Linked DNA regions of Homo sapiens: region 2 is linked to region 1. The links are contacts of gene promoters, found by promoter capture Hi-C in blood cells and fetal thymus (Javierre and others, 2016). All regions are on one chromosome and are shown on one strand. Each heading gives the region's core, a stretch centred on a gene start or on the middle of the fragment in contact. The rest is flanking DNA. Distances are from core to core; before and after follow the strand shown.

Region 1 (4,234 bases), core at 460-2,959:
GCTGCACACTCCCACGGCCTGCAGCGCCAGTCCTGGCATGGGCTCCGGGGACACCTGCCCGCTGGCCACCGTGCCAAGGCAGGATCTGGCAGTCCTGGCAGGAGCCTGCACGGGGCCATCCCTTGCCTCAGAAAGGGCATGTATTTTTAGGCAGGCCACAGGGTGTTGGCTGAGTCTGCAAGAACTGAGGCCTGTGGCTCCCAGGGACCAGCTCCCAAGGGGCAAAATCCATCCAGCAAGGATTGGGCCGGAGTGGGCCGCATTCCCACCCCCGCTGAATGGTAGCCCCGTGTGTGGGCCTGCCCTGCCTGCTCCTTCCTGCTCAGCCCCTCTCGCTCCGCTCAGCCTTCAGCCCCTTTCTGGCTACTCCACAGGCAGTCTAGACAGGGTCCCCCCACCAGACCAACCCAGTGCCTGCCAGTGGTCCCTACCGAGCCCCGGGGTATGGTGGGCAGAGGACAGGGAAGGCCCCCATTCACCTGCATGTTTCCCGCATGTTCAGTGGGCACACAGGTGGGCGCCCCTCATGGAGGGCACCTCCTGCCAGCCTGGCCCATGGCACACCATGCTGCCAGGGGTCTGAGCTGCCAGAGGTCTAAGCCGCCTGGGGTGTGCTCCACTCTTCCACCCAGGCCTCCCTGGGGCAGGCTCCCCCTCCAGAGCCACACACCCACCCCCTTGGAAGACACAGGCAAGGATGCCTCCTCCCTGAAGGCTTGCCCTGCGCACACAGATGCATTATCCCTGGAGTTTGTGCCGCCCCACAGGCCTGTGCTCCCAGGAGCCCTGCCAGGCAGCTGGTGGCATTCTCCACGTGCAGACAGAGGCTGAGGGCCAGAGACATGCAGTAATGACCCCGGGTTACCCGGGAGGGGCTGATCTGTCTGCTTCCAACACTGGGCTTTTTCCCAAGGCGCCCAGAGCCTCTGGAGAAGACGCATCTCTTCATGCCAGCAGGGCTTCCCAGCCACTCACCCTGGAACCCTGGCCTGCCCCACCTATACCCCTGTCCTGGCTCCAGCTGCTTCCAAGGCTTGTTCCTGCAGCCTCCCAGGCACCTGTCTTGCCCACAGGCAGCCTGCCTGGCTTCCCCCGACCACAGCACTTTCCACGGATCGCCATTACAGCACACATCTTCCCTACCCGCAGGTGCATGCCAGGCTGGGGCTCCTCCCAGGTGGGGCAGGGTTCCCCACTCCTCTGGTTTGCATGGGACTTTTAACATTGAAAGTCCCACGCCCCTGGGAAGCCAGGATTGAGTCACCCTAGCAAAGAGCGCATCACATTCGCCCTGGCGTGCAGGGCCAAGCTTACAGCAGGCACTCGCTGAAGGGCAGGGCTCTCTGACAGTCTGCAGACCCACGTGCCCCCTTAGAAGCAGGTGGGCGGCCTCTGCGGCCTCCCTCAGCAGGGCTCAGAGCACTTGAGTTAAGCCTGTGGACAGCGCGGTAAAAGAACATCAGTCCAGATGTTCTGTGCTGATGCGCGATCTCTGGAGGATAACCGCCCGCCCGCCCGCAGCCCCGGGCCTCTCGGACCCCTGCCCAGCACTGGCCCTAGCTCGCCCTGTAGCGGCCGAGACCTCAGAGGCCGGGGGTGGGGGAGGGAAGGGGCGGGGCCGGCGCCTCATTAACATAATCTATGCGAGGGGGCGTTTGGCAGTCAAATATATGCGCATATATCTCCATGGCTGATGAGCTGGCCGGGCACTTTCAAAATGGCGGAGTGTGGAGCGAGCGGCAGCGGGAGCAGCGGGGACAGTCTGGACAAGAGCATCACGCTGCCCCCCGACGAGATCTTCCGCAACCTGGAGAACGCCAAGCGCTTCGCCATCGACATAGGTAGCCGCAGGCCGGGCGCCGGGCGCGGGCTGCGGGGGCGGGCGGGGCGCCGGCGGTGGGCCGGCGAGCGGGGGCGGCGGGAAGGACGAAGGGCGGGGGCGCGGGCCTCGCGCACAGCCTCACGGGCCTTGTAGTCCGCGGGCCCGCGCACAGCCTCACGGGCCTTGTAGTCCGCAGGGTCGCTGATGCGCGGGCTCGGGGCGACGGCCGGACTACAGCTACCGGCAGGCGCCGCAGGGACCAGAGCGGGGCCTGCCGGGCCTGGTAGTTCGCGCGGCCGTCCTGGGTGGCTGGGGGCCGGGGTCCAGCGTTACCCGCCGCGAGGTGGGAGGGTCGGCGGAATTTTATGTCTTCGGCCACATCGGCATCTGGGCGCCCCGGCTCCGCCGCTTGGCTGGTGGCTGGCCTGAGATTTGGGGTCCTTAGTTCTGGTCGAGACGAGGACGAGCTCGGCGGGAAGCCCTTGGCAGAGTGGCCCCGAAAAGGCCGCGCGTTCCCGCGGCGTGGCCAGCTGTGGCCCGCGGGCCGGACAGTCCGTGCACAGGCCCCGCTCTCTGGAGAGTGGACGCCGGGCGTGAGTTCAGGCGGCCGTGGACGTGGGACCTGGGAACTCGTGCCTCTGGTTTAAAAGCCACCCGTGCCTTCCGTGGCCTTTAAGGCGGCCTGCACTTCTGCCCTGGCCTCTCCAGGGTCCGCTGCAGACCCTCCTGCCTGATGGCTGTGCTCTCAGTAATGACGGCGGGCCAGGCTCTGTTCTAGACCTTTTTCCCACGCTCCTGACTCCCGGACACCTCCCAGCCACCTCTAGGGGAGGAACGCGAATTACTCCCTTTTCGCAGATGAGGATACCAAGCCCCAGAAAGGTGAACTAATTTGCCCAGGGTCATCGGGCTAGAAAGTGGCAGAACCAGGATTTGAACCAGCCACTCCCTGCTCTCCTACTCTGCCCATGTTTCAGGCATGAGGGCTTCCTGGGGGCAGCTTCACCTGGAGAAACCCCCCTTGAATAGCCGCTGCGGCTTCACATACCTCTCCCTCTTAGCACTCATCTCGGTCGTAGGCTGAGTCTGCTTGTGTGTGAATCCCACAAGAGCAGCGGTGTGTCTTGTAGCCCCAGCCCCCGAAAAGGATGCCCAACCTGTCTTTGCCGCCCAGTAAATACTGGGATGAATGGGCCTGCCGCTGACTGCTTCCCACCTCCCTGGAAAAGCTGGGACTCAGAGAGACCCAGGCCATTCCCTCTGAGCTGTGTGCTCCTGGTGCATCTGACATGTTTGCTGCTGTGGTGTCCTCGGGGTTGTTGGTGTCATCATCTCTCTGAGATGTCCAGCCAGGGAAGGGTGTCCTCTAGGGAAGTGGGGGGCGATGAGAATGGAAGTAGCTATAGGTCCTGGCTCCCACCTTTCAGTGAGCTTATGGGAGGCAATGCTTCTTAGGGGGTGTGGCCTGGTGCCAGGTATGAGAACGTGTGAGTAGCATCTTTAGGGACCGCTGATAGGACTTGGGACTGACTGGTTATTGGGCTGCAGGTGCTGAGCTTGCAGCCCTAGCCTAGGGGATTGTCTACCGCAGGCCTCACCAGAGGCTCCCCAGCCATGCTTCCCAGCCTTCTGAGACCTTGAGGCCCGGTAGAGCGTGTGCTCTGCAAGGTTCTGCTGCCCTTACACTGGGGGATTCTGTTACTGGAAGCAAGTCGGGATTAAATGTTTCTGAAATGCAATTGCAGTTGACCTGCATAAGTCACTTGGGGAATGGCCAGGAGAACAGGGCTCACCGTGGATGTTCTGTGTGGCCCCGAGAGGCCAGTGAAGCCGCAGAGCTGGGGCTGTCCAGGAAGGGCTGTCGCAGCCCTAGAGGGCCCTGGAGTACCAGCCTGTTCTCCAGGCTGAGCCCAGGGGGTTTCTTGGTAGAAGGATACTCTAAGAGGTCTGTTTAGTGCTGGTATTTATTTCCCCTCTTCAAAGTTTCTCCCTGCGTCTGGGTCCTGTGTCTCTGGTTCTTAAGAGGACCTGTTGACTGATACTGAGAGACCTTTTGTTTGTTACTCCTGACCGAGCTGCTGGGAGGCCACGCTCAGGGTGGGGTGTCTTCAACCCAGGAACCCTCAAAGCCAAAGTGCTTGTCAACAGTGTTGTTTAAAAGCAGGCTTCTCCCATTTCCTCTTCCCTTGCCTGTGTCTGGATCTAGGAAAGCTCACCTGCCCTGTGTTCTGGCAAGCTGTTTTCCTCTCGATGGGACGCTGATGTCTGCTGAGCAGATTCACCTCTTTGAAAGCAGCAGGGACGTTGTATTTCTCAAAACATACTGCAGCTTCGATCTGATTTTAGGTTTCTGCGGGCTGTGGGGAGGGTTCCTCAGAGGCAGGTGAGACAGGAAGGGGCCACGGGGCGGTG
Region 2 (4,425 bases), core at 1,758-4,257, 110 kb before region 1:
CCCGCTTCCCTGCCCCAGCATGAGTCAGTGTTGGACAGCCAGCCTCACACCTCTGCCTTGGGAAGGACAGGGGACAGCTTCCTACTTGCATGAAGGGACCATCCTAGAAGCTTCACAGTCCCTTCTACCACCAGCAACCTGGTCCCTGCAGTTGGGGCCCTCTTGGCCCACACCTGGGGCTCAGACCTTGAAGAAGCAGCCCCAGGTCTCGTCCCTGGCCTGGGATCCTACAGGTTGGACAGGTTTGAGGCCAGACTCCTGGGGCCCTTGGGGAGATGGTACCAGCCCCAGAAGCCCCTCCCTGGGTGTGAAGCTGCGTTTTGCTTGGACCCTGAGCCTTGGGCCAGCCTCCAGTAGAGCCTGAGCCCTCTCCAGAGACAGAGCTCCCAAATGGGCCCAGCCAGCCCATACCCCAAGCTGACCTTTCAGGGTGCTTTCATGGGGGCCCTTCATCGAGAATCCAGTGTGCTGGGGGTAAACTTCCTCCCTCCTCCACAGGCCCCTCCCTTCCAAGCAGAGGGACCACCGAGGGGCCCTGATGAGCACAGTCCCCAGGCTCCCACCAGACCTGTCTCCCGAAGCTGCTGGGAGGTATCAGTGCTTCCACAGAGCGAGAGAACAGCTTGTTCTTATACGTGCGTTAAATGTCCCCAGGCCTTGCAGCTGCCAGTGAGCTTGGGGACTTCTGGGTGGGGCAGAGGCAGCCAGCCTTTGCCCATCACTGTGAGTGTCACAGACTGAGGCCTCAGCCCGGGGCTTTCTCTCATGGCCATGGGCGAGAGACATGCTGGGTGAGCTGACTCGGTGCAAAACGTGCCCCCAAGCCCTGCCTGACTTCACCCTGGGGAGACAGGGCCACGACCCCCCCTCCTGGCTTCTCTCTCCTCCTGGGCACTTGCATTTGTCCCATTTCTGTCCCCTTCTCTGCCGCTTCCTTCCATGGTCTTGAACCCACAGATAGACCCCCTGCCTCTCCACCCACTTCGCTTCTGGGATCATCTGACGAACCCCAGTCCAGGGGGTCAGGCAGGGAGGGGCCCTATTCCTCGCCCTGCATGGAAGTGGGGCCCCCAGGCGGCAGGTGCAGGGCTGGGTAGCCCCCCTCCTCCTCAGGCCTCACCCACTCCTCAACCCCCATGCACCTTCATCAGCTGGCACCGCCTATGTGTCTCTGGCCACAGGGGTCTGGGTAAAGGGTCAGTGCCTCCCACCTTGAGTACCTCGGGGATGGGCAGCCCACAGTGGGAGAGGGCCCTGACAGGGACCTTCAGCCCCGCTCCTCGCCTTCCCCGCTCGGAATCTTCACGCAGTCCCCCTCTTCCGGGGTTCCCCAGCGCAGGCACCAATTTGATCCATCTTCCGCCTGCCAGCTCCCCATCCACCCTTCCCTCCCTGTCTTCACCCGTGTGCTCAAGGACTCAACAAACACCTGTCAGCAGCCCAAGAGCTAAGTTCAGGGACACGCAAGTTCCTCGGGTCAGGTGGGCCAGTCGGCACTGAGGCAGAGGAGGCAAGGGCTGGTCCAGAGAGCCTGGTCACAGCAGAAGGGCCTGCTCCAATGTCGGGGCCAGGTGGAGGCAGTGGGGAGGCGTCCCCTAGGGGTGCCCTTCCCCACCACGTTCCCTGCTCCTACCGTCCTCCTCGCCTGGGATGTCCTGCCCCATCCATCCGTGCAAGGCTGAGTGTAGATGCCAGCCCCGCTGAGGCTCCTCCTGGACCTCAGGATCGCTGTGTTTCTCCCCCACCAGGGGGCTGCCCCCTCTACCACCAGCTCACCCAGCAGGTATCTCTCATCAGCCTTTGGCCTGGCTCCTTGCTGGGCTCTGAATGTCTGCATTCCCCCAAACTTTATGTGTTGCGATCCTAACCCCCAAGGTTATGGTATCAGAAGTGGGGCTTTTGGGAGATGACCAGGGGTGGAACCTCATGAGTGGGATTAGTGTCCTTATAAAAGAGACCCCAGAGTTCTCCCAAGCCCCTCCACCATGTGGAGACCCAGTGAGAAGCTGTCTGTGAACCAGGAAGGGATCCTCACTAGAGAGCGAGCTGGCACCTTCATCTTGGGCTTCCAGCCTCCAGAACTGTGAGAAATAAGTATCTGTTGATGAACCACCTGTCTCTGCTATTCTGTTGGGGCAGTCCAGATAGACAAAGACATGCCCGTTCCCGCGGCCCACCACCTCTGCCCTGAGCACAGTGGGTGAGTCTCGGTTCCCCTTATCCCATCCCTGCTGGGGTCCAGCCCTGGCTTTTCCTGAGGTAGTTTCTCCAGGACCAAGCAGACACCCACAACCAGCAGCCCTTAAGGCATGGACGCACTCGTCCCTGAGGCCTGGGTGTCCCGCCTGGAGGGGCATGTCCACAGCTGCTCTGGGTCCTGACGCTCCAGGAGCTCACGCTGTCTGCAGATCCACCACTTCCCTGGGCAGTCCCCGGCCTGCGTCTTCCTCAGTGCTCAGCTGGAGGTGGAGAGAAATCAGGCTGGGACGGAGGGTGGCCCTTGCTTTGCACGATTCCTGCCTCGACGTTACACCAGGGACATTCCAGCATCTCCCCTTCATTAACTGTAGACCGCCAGCAAATCCAGATTTCATTCAACCAAGTAAACTGGTAGAGTCATTTCCAGCAGCTAATGTGAGCTAGCGCATTAAATTCAGAATCTCTAGTAAGTGTACCTGCATCAATAAAGCCAAGCCGGTCCAGCTGCATTAATACCCTACCCTCCATTCCCACACGGTTCCCAGGTCTCCGTGTGTGAATTTGTAACATCTTACGAGCATTTTGGTGTGAAAGTGGTTCCTTCCTGAGTCAGGCTTTGTACTTGACCCTTCCCCTCCCTGGGAGTACACTGAGGTTCTAGAGGCAACAGGGTGGCTATGGTGGTTAAATAAAATGAGCATCATTTCTAGGCACCTGGCCAGGTAAGCTTATCACAGCATTTTCAAGCAGAACAAAAAAAATAAATAAAGGCTACTCTCAGATCTTGGAGGACAAGCTGCTTCCCCTGGAAGGAGAGGCTCAGAGAACCAGGGGGTTCACAATTCTCAGCTTCATCTGAGCCCAACCAGACATCCCCATGCCAAGCTTCAGCATCCAGTTCCTTCCCACTCAGTGCCCACGTTTCAGTAGTGAGGCTGTGAGTGTGAGCCACACAGCAGTCACACAACTCAGAGTTAAACTGTGCATCCGAGTTGTAGCAGCAGCAGCCCCGAGGCTCTCAGGAACAAGGGACTCTTCCATGGCCATGGCAGTCCTGATTCTCTGTCTATGACTTAAACTGAGTTTAGAGACCTGAACGTGTGGTTCCTTCCTGTTAGTGCTGCTGGACACTCAGGGGACCCCCCACAGCCCTCGTGGTTGTGGTCATCCTCGTGGCCGTGACAGCCTCACACAGCAGCACGTGGGTTCCCGAGGCCCTCAATTCTGCTGGTGCCTCACAGCCAGCATGGGGGATGGCTTGGTTAACTGTGAAGCTCCCCCAACAACACTGTGGGCCAACAGCCTCCCCTTCCCACTGGCCAGGAGATCGGCCTGCAGCCCAGCCCAAGCAACAACCACACTAACCTAATCCCCGGACCCCACCTTTTGATAGTGACAGGAGGCAGACAAATCCTAGGCAGACAGGGACAGGTTCCCAGTGAAACCCCACCTCCGAGCCAAAGACAGTTTAAAGCCTGAAAGCCAAGCTACAAATTAAATCCTCAGCCTGGATTGAGAACCCATCTTCCCATTTGGCTGCTTTCCTCTGATTGATCCCCACCCTTCACCTATTTTACATGTACCTATCTTTTCCTAATTCATTTTCTACACTGGCATGCCCACCTTTGAGTGGTACCTTTGTTTAAGCCTTTTTTGCATAATCAGAAGCCAATCAGCATGCACTCCCCCATTCTGAGCCCATAAATGCCCCGGACCCAGCCACACTAGGAGAGAAACCACCTGACTTCAGGTCGGGAACCACCCGTGCATCCCCTCTCTGCTGAGAGCTGTTCCGTCTCTCAATAAAATTCTTCTCTGCCCTTCTCACACTTCGATTGGCAGCATCTCCTCATTCTTCTTGGACACGGGACAAGAACTTGGGAACTGCCATACATGGGTACAAGCTATAACACAAGCAGGCTGGAACATGCCCAGCCCAGCCACAGGCTGAGCTGGTGAACAGCCAGGTGTGGCCCAGGCAGGCTGAGTGGGTGGGCCACCTCCTGCGGCAGGTAGCATGGCCAAGAGAGGCCTGGGGAGGGGGGGTGTCAGCAGCCAGAGGTACCTGGCTGGCAAAGTGACCAAAGAGGTACCTGACTGTGTCACTTTGAGGGCCTGTCTCTGGGGACCCCCTCCTAGTATGAATTTATGTATCAGTTGGGGTCTACTTGGGAGATGGAAACCACAACAGTGATTCTAATAGCATGAATTTAATGTGCAGAATTT

The links. Contacts are between HindIII fragments. The CHiCAGO score rates a contact against its expected background, and 5 or more counts as called.
Region 2: a fragment that was not itself captured here is called in contact with the fragment with the promoter of PANK4 in region 1 in 2 of 17 cell types (activated CD4 T cells and total CD8 T cells); the score reaches 5.6 in activated CD4 T cells.

What each region holds. Positions count from the first base shown.
Region 1 is chr1:2,524,071-2,528,304 of GRCh38, reverse strand. PANK4 (pantothenate kinase 4 (inactive)) reads left to right here and starts at 1,709. Exons shown (of 19, transcript NM_018216.4): 1 at 1,709-1,841. The coding sequence starts at 1,718. RefSeq lists enhancers at 1-240, 962-1,682, 4,202-4,234. The HindIII fragment of the contact is 7,457 bases long and covers 1,312-4,234 here.
Region 2 is chr1:2,636,589-2,641,013 of GRCh38, reverse strand. It overlaps TTC34 (tetratricopeptide repeat domain 34), which reads left to right. Exons shown (of 9, transcript NM_001242672.3): 9 at 1-4,028. MMEL1-AS1 (MMEL1 antisense RNA 1) reads right to left here. Exons shown (of 3, transcript NR_183343.1): 3 at 4,394-4,425. Among named protein-coding and RNA genes, the nearest start is that of MMEL1, 5.8 kb to the right of the region's middle. RefSeq lists a silencer at 2,777-2,977. The HindIII fragment of the contact is 158 bases long and covers 2,929-3,086 here.